Linked DNA regions of Homo sapiens: all the other regions are linked to region 1. The links are contacts of gene promoters, found by promoter capture Hi-C in human tissues and cell types (Jung and others, 2019). All regions are on one chromosome and are shown on one strand. The core of a region is centred on a gene start or on the middle of the fragment in contact, and the rest is flanking DNA. Distances in the headings are between cores, read along the strand shown. Region 1 holds the start of RAB36 (RAB36, member RAS oncogene family). Region 2 holds the start of GNAZ (G protein subunit alpha z). Region 3 overlaps BCR (BCR activator of RhoGEF and GTPase).

Evidence for each region. The method cuts DNA at HindIII sites, captures the fragments that hold promoters and counts their contacts. A contact is called where the count stands out against the background at its distance.
Region 2: a contact is called between the fragment with the promoter of GNAZ here and the fragment with the promoter of RAB36 in region 1, in 4 of the 25 tissues and cell types used here (adrenal gland, dorsolateral prefrontal cortex, lymphoblastoid cells and 1 more).
Region 3: a contact is called between a fragment that was not itself captured here and the fragment with the promoter of RAB36 in region 1, in 14 of the 25 tissues and cell types used here (IMR-90 fibroblasts, aorta, bladder and 11 more).

Annotation. Positions count from the first base shown.
Region 1 is chr22:23,144,098-23,146,879 of GRCh38, forward strand. RAB36 (RAB36, member RAS oncogene family) reads left to right here and starts at 1,380. Exons shown (of 11, transcript NM_004914.5): 1 at 1,380-1,454; 2 at 2,508-2,588. The coding sequence starts at 2,520. It also overlaps a transcript of RSPH14 not described here. RefSeq lists a silencer at 1,133-1,202. The HindIII fragment of the contact is 15,551 bases long and covers 1-2,782 here.
Region 2 is chr22:23,068,972-23,071,884 of GRCh38, forward strand. It overlaps GNAZ (G protein subunit alpha z), which reads left to right and starts at 1,548. Exons shown (of 3, transcript NM_002073.4): 1 at 1,548-1,599. The region is part of intron 4 of RSPH14 (radial spoke head 14 homolog); the gene reads right to left. RefSeq lists silencers at 1,223-1,362, 1,503-1,642 and an enhancer at 2,249-2,913. The HindIII fragment of the contact is 23,611 bases long and covers 1-2,913 here.
Region 3 is chr22:23,230,128-23,233,125 of GRCh38, forward strand. All of the region lies in intron 1 of BCR (BCR activator of RhoGEF and GTPase), which reads left to right. Among named protein-coding and RNA genes, the nearest start is that of BCR, 51 kb to the left of the region's middle. The HindIII fragment of the contact is 9,635 bases long and covers 1-2,998 here.

The DNA.
Region 1 (2,782 bases), core at 130-2,629:
AAAAAAAAAAAAAAAAAAAAAAACAGCTAAAGGAGGAGTTCAGGGTGATCTCTAGCTCCTGCCAAATCCCCAAATCCAAATTAGTAAGTGACCCCACAGCTTAATCTTCCCTTCTCCTAAATCCCATTGGCACACTCCCTTCCCCTAATTCTCTATTTACTTCTCTGCTTCCCGCAGTGGACTCCAATTTCCCTGAGGGTGGACACCATGTCCGTTCTCTTTCCTTGTCTCCCCAGTGCTAGGCATATACCAGGAAGCTTTCAGTACATGTAGGACAAATGAATAGTTAATGGACTTGAATCAAGCTTTACAGTATAAAAGCACTTTCACCATCTCAGGTGATCCATTGAAATAGATAGTTGCGTTTATTTTATAGTTGAGTAAACTGAGGTGCGGAAGGTGGAACAACTCACCTAAGTTCACCCCCTAAGCCTCAACCTTAGCAGTGAAACTCACTAAAAGACATTAAACAGAGCCAGGTGTGGTGGCCCTTGCCTGTAGTCCCAAGGACTGGGGAGGCTGAGGCGGGAGGATTCCTTGAGCCTAGGAGTTCGAGTCCAGCCTGGACAACATAGCAAGACTCCATCTCTTTAAAAAAAAAAAAAAAAGACATCAAACACCAGCCTCCAGCACACTTAGCTTTGAATTGAAGATGACTGAGTTAGATCTGTGTACCAAGGCTTCCATATTGTGATGCAGAAAAGTTAAGGAGCTGAATTAAGTAGGTTCTCAAACTGAACCCCGGACTTCGAAGCTGGTTCCACGGTTTTATAAGGGCCACAAGAGGCCATCTAGCCCAAAACAGCTAACTTTCCAAACCGAAACTAGTTCAGAGGAAATCACTGACTCAGGTCAGCTTTTTATTAAGGAAATTAATTTTGTACCGTGAGCTCTAGAAGCCAGGCATATGATATTCAGACAGCACTGGATTCAGAACTATGCAGACTAAGGTCAGTAGATGGTAGGCAGGTCTATCTTCTGCAGCTGCAGGGTGCTTGACTCCAATTAAACATCAATACCACATCAGGAGCTCTTATGCCATAACCGCCCAACCTCTCCCAGCCGAGCTGATCACCAGAACCTGCGCGAATCTCTCCACGGTCAGCCCCACCCAGGGCTCAGGCTCCGCCCCCGGGCCTCCATAGCCCCGCCCACCGCCCACCCATCCAGCACCGCCCTTGTTGTCATGGTGATCTCCGGCTCTCCAGGGTGTCCAGGAGTCTCTCTGCTGCCAGCCCCGCCCAGACTCCAGGCAGGTTCTCGTTGCTATGGTGATCGCCGGTGCAAGCTGGATGCTTGGACGCGCCGCTGCCAGTCCAACGCAGACCCCGCCCACGACGTCGACGATTCGTGTAGCCCGCAGGTCCCGCGTGGCTCTCGTTGCCATGGTGATCGCCGCCGCTGGCTCAGGCGGACCAGGCCGCGCGGAGCCCCAGCTTTCACAGCCATCGCTGGTGAGTCAGCTCGCCCACTCTGTCCGACCCTCCCGGTCACCCAACCCCGTGCTGGCACATCCCGAGGCCAGGGCCGCGAGGGCACAGCGTCCGCGCCCACTTCCCGCCCCTATAACTTGAAAGCGGCCTGCGGCCCCGGGGCGTCCTCATTTCCGGAGCGCAAACTCTGGGCCAGGCCCGCGCTGGTTGTGGAGGAGAGCCAGGTCAGATGCGGGAAGACAACCGGACTCCGCCAGGACCACCCCAGCCCAGCCTGGAGAGGAGTCCGGACAGAAAAAGGAGACAGAGGGGCTGTTGAGGAGGCTCGAGGAGTCAGAGGCCTGGTGAAGTGAGGGTTTTCAGGGAAAAGGCCTAGTTGGCTGAAAGTTAAGGCCCCCAGGCCCACCTAGAGCCTTCGTCCTTTGCAGACTGGGAGCAGGAGACCCCTCCCCACTCTACTTCCACTGCCTGAGCTGTGCCATGCCTCACAGCCCAGTAAGGTAAGCTCAGAGGGGAGCTCCTCCTTGGTAGACACCTGTCAAGGGGAGACCCAGGTCTTCTGACTCCCAGGCAGGGTGGGGCAGGCCTGGTTCCCCCATACCATGCTGCCTGCTGTATGCAGATTGAGAGAAATGGCCTCTGCCCCATATTCCTGACAGAGAGGGAAGCCTGGATCTGGTTTTATTTATAATTCTTGAGACAAGGTCTTACTCTATCACCCAGGCTGGAGTGCAGTGGCACCTTCACGGTTCACTGCACCCTTGACCTCCCAGGCTCAAGCATTCCTCCCACCTTCCTCCCAAGTAGCTGGGACTGCAGGCACAGGCCACCATGCCCTGCTAATTTTTTTGGTTTTTTTTTGTAGAGACTGAGGTTTCACTTTGTTGCCCAGGCTGGTCTCAACCTCCTGGGCCCAAGTGATCCTCCCACCTTGGCCTCCCAAAGTGCTGGGATTACAGGCATGAGCCACTGCACCCAGCCTGGATCTGATGAAAAGTTAGGTGGAAACTCATGGGTGAATCCCCAGGTATTTGCACAGCTCCTTAACTGTCTTTCTCCTGGTTGGGTCCACAGGACTGTGGAAGAATGAGGTCCTCCCTGACACCTTTGGGGCCCCCTGTGAGCCGCGACCGTGTCATCGCCAGCTTCCCTAAGGTAGAGAGTCATTACGTCTGCAGTGCTCTCCTGGCCCTGCAGCCACATCAGCTCTCCCCACTCTACACTCATGCCTAGAAGTAAAGCAGGTGAATCAAGGAGGTCTGTCCATTGTCAGATTTACCTTGAGGAGCTGGGAGACTGGTCACTGACTGCCCAAGGTGGGACCGCAAGTTAATGGTGACACTGGGCAG
Region 2 (2,913 bases), core at 298-2,797, 75 kb before region 1:
AAGTTCGCCTCCATGATGCCCATAACAAATATACGTCCTGTTCCTGACAGTTGAGGCAGCACCCTCACAGGTGGCCCATGACCCTGCAGGTACGTAACGCAATGGTCTCCATCTCACAGAAGAGGAAACATTCCTAGGGAGGTTATGGGATGATGCTGAGATGCCACAGTGTCCAGCTGGCAAAGCCAGGCACATGCCCCTGCCCCTCCACCACAGAGCTATGATGGAGAGACCGCTCCATGGACCTCTGCCATGGTCAGGTCCAGGGCTGCTGCTCAAAGAATGGCATGATCCACACCTTACAAAGGTGTGAGGTGATAAGGAACGCGTTAGCTGGGAAGGCATTTGCACTTTGTCAGGGATGCTCTAGGATACACAAAGCTTCAGATTTACAAAGATGGAGAAGAGAGACAGGAGCATTCATGTCTTGGCCCTCTGGCTTGAGAGTCTTTTAAGCATGGAACTGAGGGACTCCTGGCCCTGAGGTCCACAGATAGGCTTTGAAATTGAAAACAGAATTTTGCAGCCTGGGTTCAGCTGCGTTTTGCTGAGGGTCTGATGCTTTCCACCAGCTTCCCAAAAGCGCCAATCAGTGGCCTTAACTGAACTGGCTCTCTCACGCTTGTCTGGGCTGGGGGCCAGCTCCTCGGTCCTTCTCCCTTCCTTCCCTCCCAAGGCCACCCTTCCGTGTGCCAGGATTGCCAGGGACGCCAAAGAGCCCCTAGACACTGGGCGGTGGCGGCGGGGGGCGGCGGCAGAGATGACTAATGCTCCCTCCCATCGCTGCACAAACCTCACCGGTGTAAATCGTTAGGGTTTGCATAGGCCTTTCACACGTTCTGAAGGATTGGTGAGACAATCCAGGAAAGCAGGTGCCACTAGCCCCACTTTGCAAACAGAAAGGCTGAGAGAGGTCAGTCGGTTGCCCAAGGACGTAGAGCTCACAAGAGGCCGAACTGGGTTTGAACCCGAGTGGAGAGAAGGCGAGCCGGGACTGGCTGCAGTAAAGAGGGCCAGGACCATGGCTGGGCTCAGGCTTGGTTTCCCGGGCTGCCAGAGGTGGCCCCTGGGGCTCGGCTACCAGGCCTCAGCGCAGCGGAGTCGGTGGAACGCCGGCGCGGGGAGCTCTTGCGGGACTGCGGCGCGCGCGGAGCTGCGACCCCGCCCCTGTCCGTCCCCATTGGGCTACTGGCCCGTCCGTCAGCTGCCTGTGCCCAATGGACAGAGGGCCGGCGCTCGTGGCGGGGCGGAGGTGCCCGGCGCGTGGTGCCCGGCGGGCGCGCGGCACCCCCCCGCCCGCGGTTGGCCTGGCAACGGGCTGCGCTCGCGGCTCCGCCCCCTGCCGGCGGCGGCGCGGCGCGGGGCGGGCGGACCCGCGGACTGGCGGCGGGCGGCGGGCGGCGGGCGGCGCGGGAGGGCGGGCGGAGGGAACCAGGCCGGCCGGAGCGTGTGCGCCGCCCGCGGTCCGGTCACGTCCCCGCGTGGGCGCCGCTGCCCGCGTCGTACGGAACGAGGGCGCCGCGGCCCCGTGCTCGCCGCCCCGCCCCGCCCCGCCCTGCCCGGAGCAGCTCGGCAGATGCTCTGTGCTGCGGCCCGGAGGTGAGTGAGCCGACCCGCGGCCGGCCGCGCGCCGCTGAGCCTCAGGGGTCGGGGGCACGGCCGGGGCATCCACCTTGCCCCCACTTGGGACTCTTCCCAGGCCTTTGTGCCCCGGATCCGCCAGGACGCAGCGTCAGGGATGCCCCTCAGGGGTGGGGGACACCAAGGGCGGGGACGCCTGCGAGGTGGGCAGGGGGCGGCCTCTGGTCGGGCAGGTGCTGGGGGAGGGATGCGCCGCCAAGCCGATGACCCCGCGGGAGGGGGCGGTTGAGGACCCGGGAGGGTGGACAGAGGGCGCCGGGGATGCCGCGCGGGGCCGCCGGGCGCCCCCAAGCAGCGGCTGATGCGGAGCCCGGGCGGGCCAGGCGAGCTGCGGGAGCGGCGCTGAGGCGGGTCTCCCTAGGGGGAGGATCAGGGAGGGGCGGCCGGAGCCGATGCAGGGCCTTGCCTGAAACCGAGGAGAGGGCCCCAGAGGCCTGGGCCCGAGGACCTGGGCCCGCAGACGGACAGCTAGCAGTTCTCGGTCACTGCTCTTGCAGCGAGCAGGTTCCTCACAGGCATTTAGAGGAAGAGATGAGTATCGACCTGCTGCGATTGTAATACGTTCCCGGCTCAATATTTTTTCCCTTAAAAGGCGGTGGGGGTGTTTGGGGGAGGGGAGTGAGGGCCTCAGGGCTGGCGCTCCGTATCCTGCGGGCGATCCGAGGGGGCTCTGCCTTTAGGGCGGTGCTGAGCCTTCCTGGGTGATGATGGCAGGATTCGGCCTAGGCCGAGAATGGGGGCTCCTGTTAACTGAGACAAGAGGATGATGCCAAGCGAGACCAGCGTTCCGCGTAGTCCGTGTTGGGGTGGAGGGACCCGCCTGGTAGAGAGGTCTGTCTTGCTTGGGGAGACAGCTGAGCCCCTGACCGGCTCCTTTCTGCCCAAGTGATTTCCCTGCCCTGGGGATTGAGCTCTCTGGAGAAGGCTCCTTGGCCAAATTCAATTAAGCAAATATTTATTGAGTGGTCACTCCCCCAGAGCTTGACGCTGGGGTGCACCGGGTGGGAGTGGACTGGGCCTGCCCTCCCAGGACTGATTGACCACCGCATAGGGGAAAACGTCTCTACTCGACCAACCCCGCTTGAGTGCAGGTGCAGGGGCCTCGGGAGGGACCTCAGAGTGGTGTCCTGGGCTGGGGGGTCAGGTGAGCTCGTGGGCAACATGACATTTGAACTGGAGCTTGAAGGACATGGGCACAGCTAAGCTGGGCATTGTGGGCAGAGAGGAGAGAATAGACCGAGGCACTTGGGCAGTTAGGTCTGATGGGAGCAC
Region 3 (2,998 bases), core at 213-2,712, 86 kb after region 1:
CCAAAAACTGGAAAACCAGAAAAATCACTGCCAAGGTGTCCTTAAAGTCCTGCAATCTCTGCTCAGTCCTCCTGCCCTTATCTACCTTTTTGAGTCCCATGATAGAGGTTTCATGCAGAATTTGTACCTGTGGATAGTGGGAAAGGCTGTAGTGTGCTTTTTCCATCTTGCCTGGAATTGGAAGTTCCAACTTCTACATTTAGACGTCCTTCTCTCTGTGTGTGGTGATGTTCCCTGGGATAGACCACTACTGCCCTTAGACAGCATTCTGAGGGTGGTGGCCCATACTGATCACCTCAGCCCACCCAGTAACTTTCCTGCGGCCCCTCCCAAGACCCCCGCCCCAACAGGGCTAAGCTGATACACACACTGCGGATGCAGGCCTGCCTGCTGGGCCTTCCTGGTGTTTGTTTTTTCCAGGCAAAGCACCTCTCTCTGCCTCCTGCTGGTTTATTCAGCAGTGTCCCAGGGTTTGCTCATTGTCTGCTTTGCTTCAGACCCTTCTATCAAATTCCATTGTCTCTGTCTTAATGGTCTTTGCAGGGTAGGCATGGCCATCTGCATGTTCACTGAAGGGCCTGCCTGCATTTCCAGGGAGAGAAAGCCTTCAGGCCACTGGTGCATAAAGATCTTTGGAAATGTCCAGAAGATCCCAAACATTGCCTGTCCTGCATGCCAGGCCTCACTTGCCACCAGCCTGCTCCCCAGCCGCACATCCAGCTGTCATTTCCTAGAGAACCCATCCCACGCAGTTGTTTTGGACACATAGCGTTCCTTCAGGGAATGTGGCCCCGGGGCCACAGGTGGAGTAGAGGGCACAGTATCCCGAACCATCTAACGGGGCCCGACTCACCCTCACCATGCACCAGGCCAGTTATGGTTTCTTTCTGTGTCTTATTTCCCCCTCCATCAAATGAGAGTTATTGTAGAAACCTTATAGTGCTGTGTTGGGATTAGCAGTAAACAGTTTGGCATGTGGTAGATGCTCGGGAAATGGAAGCTGCCCTTTTTTCCTAATGGGAAAGAAGGGATTTTGTTTTTGAGACAATTCCCTTCCTCTGCTGCTGCATAGGGACACCTGGGTGCCTTTCTAAAATTAGACCAGGGCATGGTGGCTTGCTCGTAATCCCAGTGTTTTGAGAGGCCAAGGCGGGAAGATCACTTGAGGCCAGGAGTTTGAGACCAGCCTGGGCAACCTAGTGAGACTCCGTCTCTATAAAAAAATAAAATTAGCTGGATGTGGTAGTGCACGCCTGTAGTCCCAGCTATTCAGGAGGCTGAGTCAGGAAGATTGCTTGAGCCCCAGGAGTTTGAGGCAATGGTGAGCCATGTTCATGCCACTGCACTCCAGCCTAGCCAACAGAGCAAGACCCCGTCTCATAAAATAAAATAAAATAAAATAAAATAAAATAAAATAAAATAAATAAAATACCAACAGCCTGTGCTGGCTGGAGCCATGGTGTTAAAAGGCCCATGGACTTGGGCCATGCCTGAGCTGGCTGTGCTCTGCCTGCCACTTAGGCTGCCCCTCCCTGACCCAGCTTGTGTGGAGGAGGCATGGAATCCTACAGGAATGTGAAGTTCATCCTTCCCTGGATACTTGGGCACCATCTGGCCAGGCTCATGGAGCAAATGGGCCTGTGAGTTATGTCCCCACCCGTGCCTACGCCCAACCTTTATGCCCCGTTTTTAGTGGGAGAATTTTGTTTGGAGCTGCAGGTGTTGGGGGGTGGCACGTCTCAGGCTTTGGGGTCTTCCTGTTCTCTTTCTTGGCCCTGCTCCACTCCTTGGTTCCCCTGGCCCTGTCTTGCCTGCCTGTTAACTTTGGGTACCCTCAGCCTGTCCCAAGGCAGCTCATCCCTCAGGCCCTGCCCTGTCTTGTCTCTCCAGCCTCCCAGCCCAGGGGCTTGCTCTCCATGTAGTAACTAATACCTTAGTGTGATCCTCTAATTTTCTGTTGCTTTCTTGCTTCCATGGTTGTTGGAAGCCTGGAGACCCAGTGTTTGGCCAAGGACAGGGCCTGCTGGTTTTAGAGCTCCTGGCCCAGTAGGGATGATAGGACCCAGGACCCCAAGTGCTCTAGGCAGGCACTGTTCTGGGTGCTGTAAAGCACGGTGCCTAGCACCTCACAGGGACTCGGGGTGTCCTGGCTGACCAGCCGAATCCACTTTTTATTGACAAGAAGCCTGGGTCCCAGAGACATTAAGTAACGTGCTAAGGTCACCCACCTGGGCAGTGGTAGGGCTGGGTTTGAACCAAGGTCTGCACTGCCCAGCTCATGAATTCTGCTGCTTGGGAGCCAGCAGCACTACTGGCACAAGGGTAGGGGGACCTCAGGCCTGTCAGAGAGGGTGCCTGGCTCTTTGGGAGTGGGGGGTGCACCAGAGTGGGTTGGAGACAGGACCCAGAGCACCACCCTTTACCTGACCAGCATCTTGGTGGGGTTCCCCACCTGGAAAGGCAGGACCCTGGGGTCCAACAGAGCCTATTGCAGATCCAGGTTCTGGCCCAGCTGGGATGCTCACTGGCTTCTGTGGCTTATCAGCGAGCCTACCTGCTGCACCCGTGAGCATGGGCGGCCCCATCTGCCTCCTCCTTCAGGTGAGATGGCAGGATCAGAGAGATGGAATGAATGCTGCCGTGTCGCATTCATGTAGGAAGGCCTTATTTACAAACCATCTGTAGCAGTCAGAAGGCCTGATGTGGTCAGGCCAGACCATGGAGCCCCTGTTCTGGATCCATTTGGCAAAGATGAGAGAGAAGCTGGGTTAGGCTTTGTTGGGTAAATGCAAATGCCACATCTGTGTGTGCACACACATAGGCTGAGACATTTTTCTGCGAGGTGGGGGATCGCATTGAGGGAAGAAAAGGTGCTCTAATAGCTTCAGCCTGGACTTGGGTCCAGAGCTTTGGATAGAAGCATCTTTCCAGACAATTGGGATCCTGTAGAAAATCTGCCCTCTGAGGCTCTTCTATGCCTTCTGTTGTGTCCTGGGAC